Linked DNA regions of Homo sapiens: region 1 is linked to region 2. The links are contacts of gene promoters, found by promoter capture Hi-C in blood cells and fetal thymus (Javierre and others, 2016). All regions are on one chromosome and are shown on one strand. The core of a region is centred on a gene start or on the middle of the fragment in contact, and the rest is flanking DNA. Distances in the headings are between cores, read along the strand shown.

What was found. The method cuts DNA at HindIII sites, captures the fragments that hold promoters and counts their contacts. A CHiCAGO score of 5 or more calls a contact.
Region 1: a contact is called between the fragment with the promoter of NLRP13 here and the fragment with the promoter of ZNF835 in region 2, in 3 of 17 cell types (endothelial precursors, activated CD4 T cells and M0 macrophages). The highest score is 5.8, in endothelial precursors.

What each region holds. Positions count from the first base shown.
Region 1 is chr19:55,930,524-55,933,702 of GRCh38, forward strand. It overlaps NLRP13 (NLR family pyrin domain containing 13), which reads right to left and starts at 1,813. Exons shown (of 11, transcript NM_176810.2): 1 at 1,470-1,813. The coding sequence starts at 1,788. The HindIII fragment of the contact is 1,470 bases long and covers 1,688-3,157 here.
Region 2 is chr19:56,670,501-56,673,551 of GRCh38, forward strand. It overlaps ZNF835 (zinc finger protein 835), which reads right to left and starts at 1,257. Exons shown (of 2, transcript NM_001005850.3): 1 at 1,076-1,257. LOC105372473 (a long non-coding RNA gene) reads left to right here and starts at 1,479. Exons shown (of 4, transcript XR_936110.4): 1 at 1,479-1,931. The HindIII fragment of the contact is 4,177 bases long and covers 1-1,351 here.

The DNA.
Region 1 (3,179 bases), core at 563-3,062, 740 kb before region 2:
ACAAATACAAAAATTAGCCGGGCATGGTGGCAGGTGCCTGTAGTCCCAGCTACTCGGGAGGCTGAGGCAGGAGAATCCCTTGAACCCAGGAGGCGGAGAGTGCAGTAAGCCAAGATCACACCATTGTACTCCAGCTTGGGTGACAAGAAGGAAACTCCATCTCAAAAAAAAAAAAAAAAAAAAAGAGTCAATGTCTGGTTTATAACAGGCACCAGGAAACATGATTATTTTCAACAGCTCTCATAGGCAGTCAGTTCTTTTATAAAGTGATGTGTGCATTCTGAAAACTCACCACAGCAGATTACATGGTGCACTAAGACCAGACGGCTTACAGGAGATAGAATCAGTGATTATATATATATATATATATATATAAAATTTTAACCAGAAGCTTAAACAGCATGGTTTTATACTTGCTGATTAATTACAAAACACTTTATTACCACAATAAACACTGCACGATCCTACAACACCACAATCAGCCCTGTAACACCTCAGCAGGTCTTGCAATGCCACAGAAGATGTGGCATGAAACTTTACCCTGAGTAAAACATGAACTTTGCTTGTGAATATGGGAAGTGTCGCAGCTTGTGAGTTTTTGTGAAGTGAAAGAACAATGATCTGAAATCAGACAGAAAGTGTAGAATGGGCAAGGCTCGTACTGAGGAAGCGGGTAGATGTTTGAGGTACATGCCTGTGTGCATTGTGTACAATCCTACATGGCTCTGCTCGGCTGAGTGCAGGGTCGGTGGGTTGCGGGGGCAGGGCGGGGGTTGTTGTGGTTTCTTAGTGTTTCTCTTGGGCAAAACCATGCATAAGCTAACATGAAATCTGTGCTGCACTCAAATTGTTCCCAGTACGACAATCACACTGGGACAAATTTGCATGTTTAAAAGAAGCCTGGGCTGGGCGCGGTGGCTCACGCCTGTAATCCCAGTGCTTTGGGAGGTCGAGGCGAGCAGATCACGAGGTCAGGAGATTGAGACCATCCTGGCTAACACAGTGAAACCCCGTCTCTACTAAAAATACAAAAAAATTAGCCGGGTGTGGTGGCGGGCGCCTGTAGTCCCAGCTACTTGGGAGGCTGAGGCAGGAGAATCGCTTCAACCTGGGAGGCAGAGGTTACAGTGACCTCAGATCGCACCACTGCACTCCAGCCTGGGCGACAGAGTGGAGACTCAGGCTCAAAAAAAAAAAAAAAAGAAAGAAAGAAAGAAAGAAAAAGGCTTATAACATAACTGAATGTGCCTCTTCCGATTCCCTTTCTTGCCTTTGCTACTCCTTCCCAGGCTAGAGCACTAAATCTTTATAGCCTTTATGCCTTTAAACATCATACTGTCATAGATTATCAAGGAGGATTTGTAGGGGGAGATCGGCAGTGTGGAATGACCCCACAAAAACCCAGCGGCTACCTCCTTGCCTCAGGAGTACCAAGCAGCCCTCCCGCCTTCCTTCTTGAGGACTCTCACCTTTCATCTCGGCTCTAACTTTCTCACACAGTGAGGTCAGATTCATTGTCTGGAAGATGCCGAGGACCACTTTCCATGCCTGACCTTTTGGGAAGTGTTCATCCAAAAGAAAGGACAGATTCAAAGGGTCGGCAGCTCTCAAGTTTGCCCAGGGGATACGCGGGAAGTGCCCCTGGGGGGCCGACCAGAAGTCCATCAGCTGCTGGGGTTCCAAGCAAAGCTTGAATTCCTCCAGCTGATACTGATCCAGGGCCATCAGGTAAGGCAGAAGCCCTTGGTTGGTACCACCGTTGGGGCAGGTGATTACAGAAAAGTTCATCTTGCCCAACACATGCAGTTTCTCACTTCAGCAAAGGACTCCTATATCCACAGGACACTTGTGACCTGCAGAAAAGGAGAGAGTTGAAATCATAAGCCATAAATATCACCTCCTCTCACTGTCTTGCCTACACATTTGAGTATTTTCGCTTCACAGTACTTCCTGCTACTTGTGTTAGTACACTTTTTTGTTGTTGTTTTGTTTTTTGAGATGGAGTCTCGCTCTGTCCCCCAAGCTGAAGTGCAATGGTGCGATCTCGGCTCACTGCAAGCTCCGCCTCCCGGGTTCACGCCATTCTCCTGCCTCAGCCTCTTGAGTAGCTGGGACTACAGGTGCCCGCCACCACGCCCAGCTAGTTTTTTTTGTATTTTTAGTACAGATGGGGTTTCACCGTGTTAGCCAGGATGGTCTCGATCTCCTGACCTTGTGATCCGCCCGCCTCGGCCTCCCAAAGTGTTGGGATTACAGGCGTGAGCCACCGGGCCCGGCCTCAACTGGGTATTTTCTCTAGCAACCTTACCTAGACTCGAGATCACTGGCTTTCATCCCATCCCAGAAGGAACAATGCCATCAGCACCTGATTTATCTGCCTTACTAACAGTGACAGCTGTCCTAGAAAAGTTACAGGTGCATGATGGTACTTACCAACTCACATTCAGAGGGTTCACCTGAAATGTGAATAAGAAGAACATTGAAGTTAATTAGTCACAGTAAAGATCAAAGACATTTGAGAGATGGGAACGGGGGAAACTAATCAGGGAGAAGGGGTAACAAAGAGAGAAAATAGAAGTTTCCGCCCATCACGATTTTGGCCACCAGGCAGCTAATGGTGATTGAGACAGATCTGCCACTATTCCCCCATAGAACCTGGTCCGGCATGTATGCTGGGTCATGTCAAAATACCAGGTAGTATTGAAGGCAACAGATAGACAGCAGAACAAAAGACTTTTTTTTTTGTGATGGAGTTTCGCTCTCGTTGCCCAGGCTGGAGTGCAATGGCTGGATCTCGGCTCACTGGAGTCTTTGCCTCCCAGGTTCAAGTGATTCTCTTGCCTCAGCGTCCGAGTAGCTGGGACTACAGGTGCATACTGGCCTTGGCCTCCCAAAATGCTGGGATTACAGGCATGAGCCACCATGCCTGGCCCAAAACACTATGCTTGAAGCTACTGGTGTGTGACCCCCGAATGTCTCCCAAAGAGAAATCTCCAGAAGAGATGTATGTTAGGACCTACCCTGGCAGCCCAAATTCATTGGACTACTCCAGAAATTGTTGGAGAAAAGATGGGGAAAGACACACAGAGGAAAACTTGAAACATCATGAAGAAAAGCCCTTTCAGGTATAAGCAGGGAGGATAAAGACTAGGGGAAAAGCTTATTTGAGAATCAAATGA
Region 2 (3,051 bases), core at 7-2,506:
CATGCACACAGGGTCCCGGGCACACGTAGCTACACACACACCCAGCCCCACACGTAGCTCCCTGTGTGAAGAGGTGCACAGAGACGCACAAGGTCACACATGCCACCTGCTCCACACAGGCCGGCCATTACTGGGACACACCCACAGGGGATGGCTGGACACATGTGCAGTCACACTCGGTGGATAGAGCTCCAGCATAGCCAAAGCCCACATGTGCAGCGTCTCCATCATGTGCAGATGCACACACTTCAGACAGCACGGCACTCTACAGGCTCGCACAGCCAGGTCACCCATCATTGTGCTGGCAGGCACACGGGCCGAGCCAGCCTACACGGCGGCACACCCAGACATGCACACGTGGGGTCACACACCTCACATCCAGGAGAACTTTCAGACTTGCCCAAAGGCAGCCACACGTGTATGTGACATGCTGTGATATGCAGACACCGCTTCACATGAACGAGCACATAACACACCGATAAAGTGTTACATGCCTTTACCTGCAGTCACCTGCCTGGGCTGGCACCACTGAGTGAGCAGGTGCAGACACAGTGACACTCGGGGACGGGCTCACAGGCAGTCACACACCTGCAAGGCCTGGCACCGCCGAGTGAGCAGGTACAGACACAGTGATGGGCTGGCACCGCCAAGTGAGCAGGGGCAGACGCTGTGACACTCAGGGACGGGCTCACAGGCAGTCACACACCTGCACCTGCTGGTACCGTCGAGTGAGCAGGTGCAGACGCTGTGACACTCAGGGACAGGCTCACAGCCAGTCACACACCTGCACGGCCTGGCACCGCCAAGTGAGCAGGTACAGACACAGTGACGGGCTGGCACCGCCGAGTAAGCAGGTGCAGATGCAGTGACAGGCTCACAGGCAGTCACACACCTGCACCTGCTGGTACCGTCGAGTGACCAGGTGCAGACGCTGTGTTACTCAGGGACGGGCTCACAGGCAGTCACACACCTATACGGGCTGACACCGCTAAGTGAACAGGTGCAGACACAATGGCACTCGGGGACGGGCTCACACGCGGTCACACACCTGCAGGAACACGCGCACACTACACACCGTTGCTCTCGCCTCCCGGTATCACCTTCGAACGCGCTGGCCGGCCCCCTCCTAGCCTGGTGCAGTCGGCTCCGCTTCTACTCAGTCTCGGGTCCTCCTGGGCCAACGCAGACCCTGGTGCCTCCTTCCTTAGACGAGCTAAGGTCAAGACTTCTGCTGCTGCGGAGGAGCCCGCGCACCAGGCCGGGGTGGACTGCGCCTGCGCATCGGGCCCGCCTGGTTCTTAGGAACTACGACTCCCAGGGGGCGCTGCGCGCTCGCCGGCACCGCGACTAAAGCTTGCAAAGCCTGGGTCATCGAAACTACAACTCCCAGAAGGCTAAGCGTCTGCACACGCTAGGTCCGCAGGGCGCTGACCCCTGGGGGCCCGAGGAGCGCCGGGCTGCTGCCCCGAGCCCCGCCCACTACAGCCTCAGTGCATGGCGGTGGGCGCTTCCAGTAACTCAGGGGTGGGACTTTTTTCTTGCTCAGGGGATGAGGCCGAGCCCACAGGCTTAGAAAGAAGGAACTTGAGTCCGGGCACCTGTCATCCCAGCGCTTAGGGAGGCCGAGGCGGGTGGATCACCTGAGGTCAGGAGTTCGAGACCAGCCTGGCCAATATGGCGAAACCCCCGTCTCTACTAAAAATACAAAAATTAGCCGAGCATGGTGGCATGCACTTCCAGCTACTTGGAAGGCTGAGGCGGGAGAATGGCTTGAACCTGGGAGGCGAGGGTTGCAGTGAGCTGAGATCGCACCACTGCACTCCAGCCTGGGTGACAGAGCGAGACTTCGTCTCAAAAAAAAAGAAGAAGAAAGAAGGAAGCTGAGGTTCAGACAGGCTAAGTCCCTACTGCAGGCTGCGGAATCTAAAAAGGTAGGTGCCAGGGTTTGCAACCCACACTTTTATTTTGGTCTCAGGTAGCTGATGTCATTCCAGTCTATGGCAAAGAAGGTGGCAAATCCATTAACATAGATGAAGAATTTCATTTTACTTTTTAGTTTTATTTATTTATTTATTTTTATTATGTATCATGCTTTTAATACAAACTTTAAAAAATCTGGAACAATAGAAACTGTACAGATTTGATCAATCTTTTTGTTTTGTTTTTAAACTAAAATCTCTAAACACACCAATGTCCTATTCCAAAATATTGCACAACATTCTGAATACAAAACCCTTGATTGTATTCCTCCTTCACTGAAGAAAAAACTTCATGACCCTGCTCCCCGGGCTCCTCTCCAGGCTTGCGTCAATGCCCCCTTCCCATCCCTAGGGAGAAAACTAGAGAATCTATAACTCACTGCATTGAGAAAAAGACATCATTCTGGACTAACAGTTTCCATTCTTCAGAAGATAATCCACCTTTTGATTTGTTCCTGGGAAACAGGGATAGATAGAGGATGGGGAAAGGGGAGAAAAGGTTTTATTTCTCCTCTTTTTTTTTTAAAGTTTGTTTTTCCTGAAAAAATATGTTTCTCTCATCTTTTTAAGAAAAAATCTTGAAAAGAAAAAAATTGTTTTTACGTTAGAAATATACATATATTATATATACCTCTTACATTTTACAAATGTAGCAAATTATTCAATACAAACGGACACCAAAAAATGTAAAAAATAAAAAAAAGTTTTCCTAAGAACCAGGTAAATTAGTGCAGATTTCTGTTTTTGTTTTCTTAAAAAAAATAAAATTGAAGCAAAAGTGCCTAGATTTGAGACAAGACAGACTGAACTGGGCCCAAGAGCCCAGCACTGGAGTCATGCTCCTGAACACACATTTTTCTTCGTATTTCAAAAGACACAAAGGGGTTGGTCTCCCCCCCTCTCCCTACATGTGAGAAACAAGCAGACCTGGTGTGGGTGGGTGCCTGTGTGTGTGGATGGGAGGAGGGATAGAAGGGGATGTAAGGCAGCATCCAACCTTTCCCAGAGAGAAGCTATCTGCTGGGCCTGTCACCTGTGTGGGAGCCGAGGATGAGGGAAAGGGTGGCCCAGA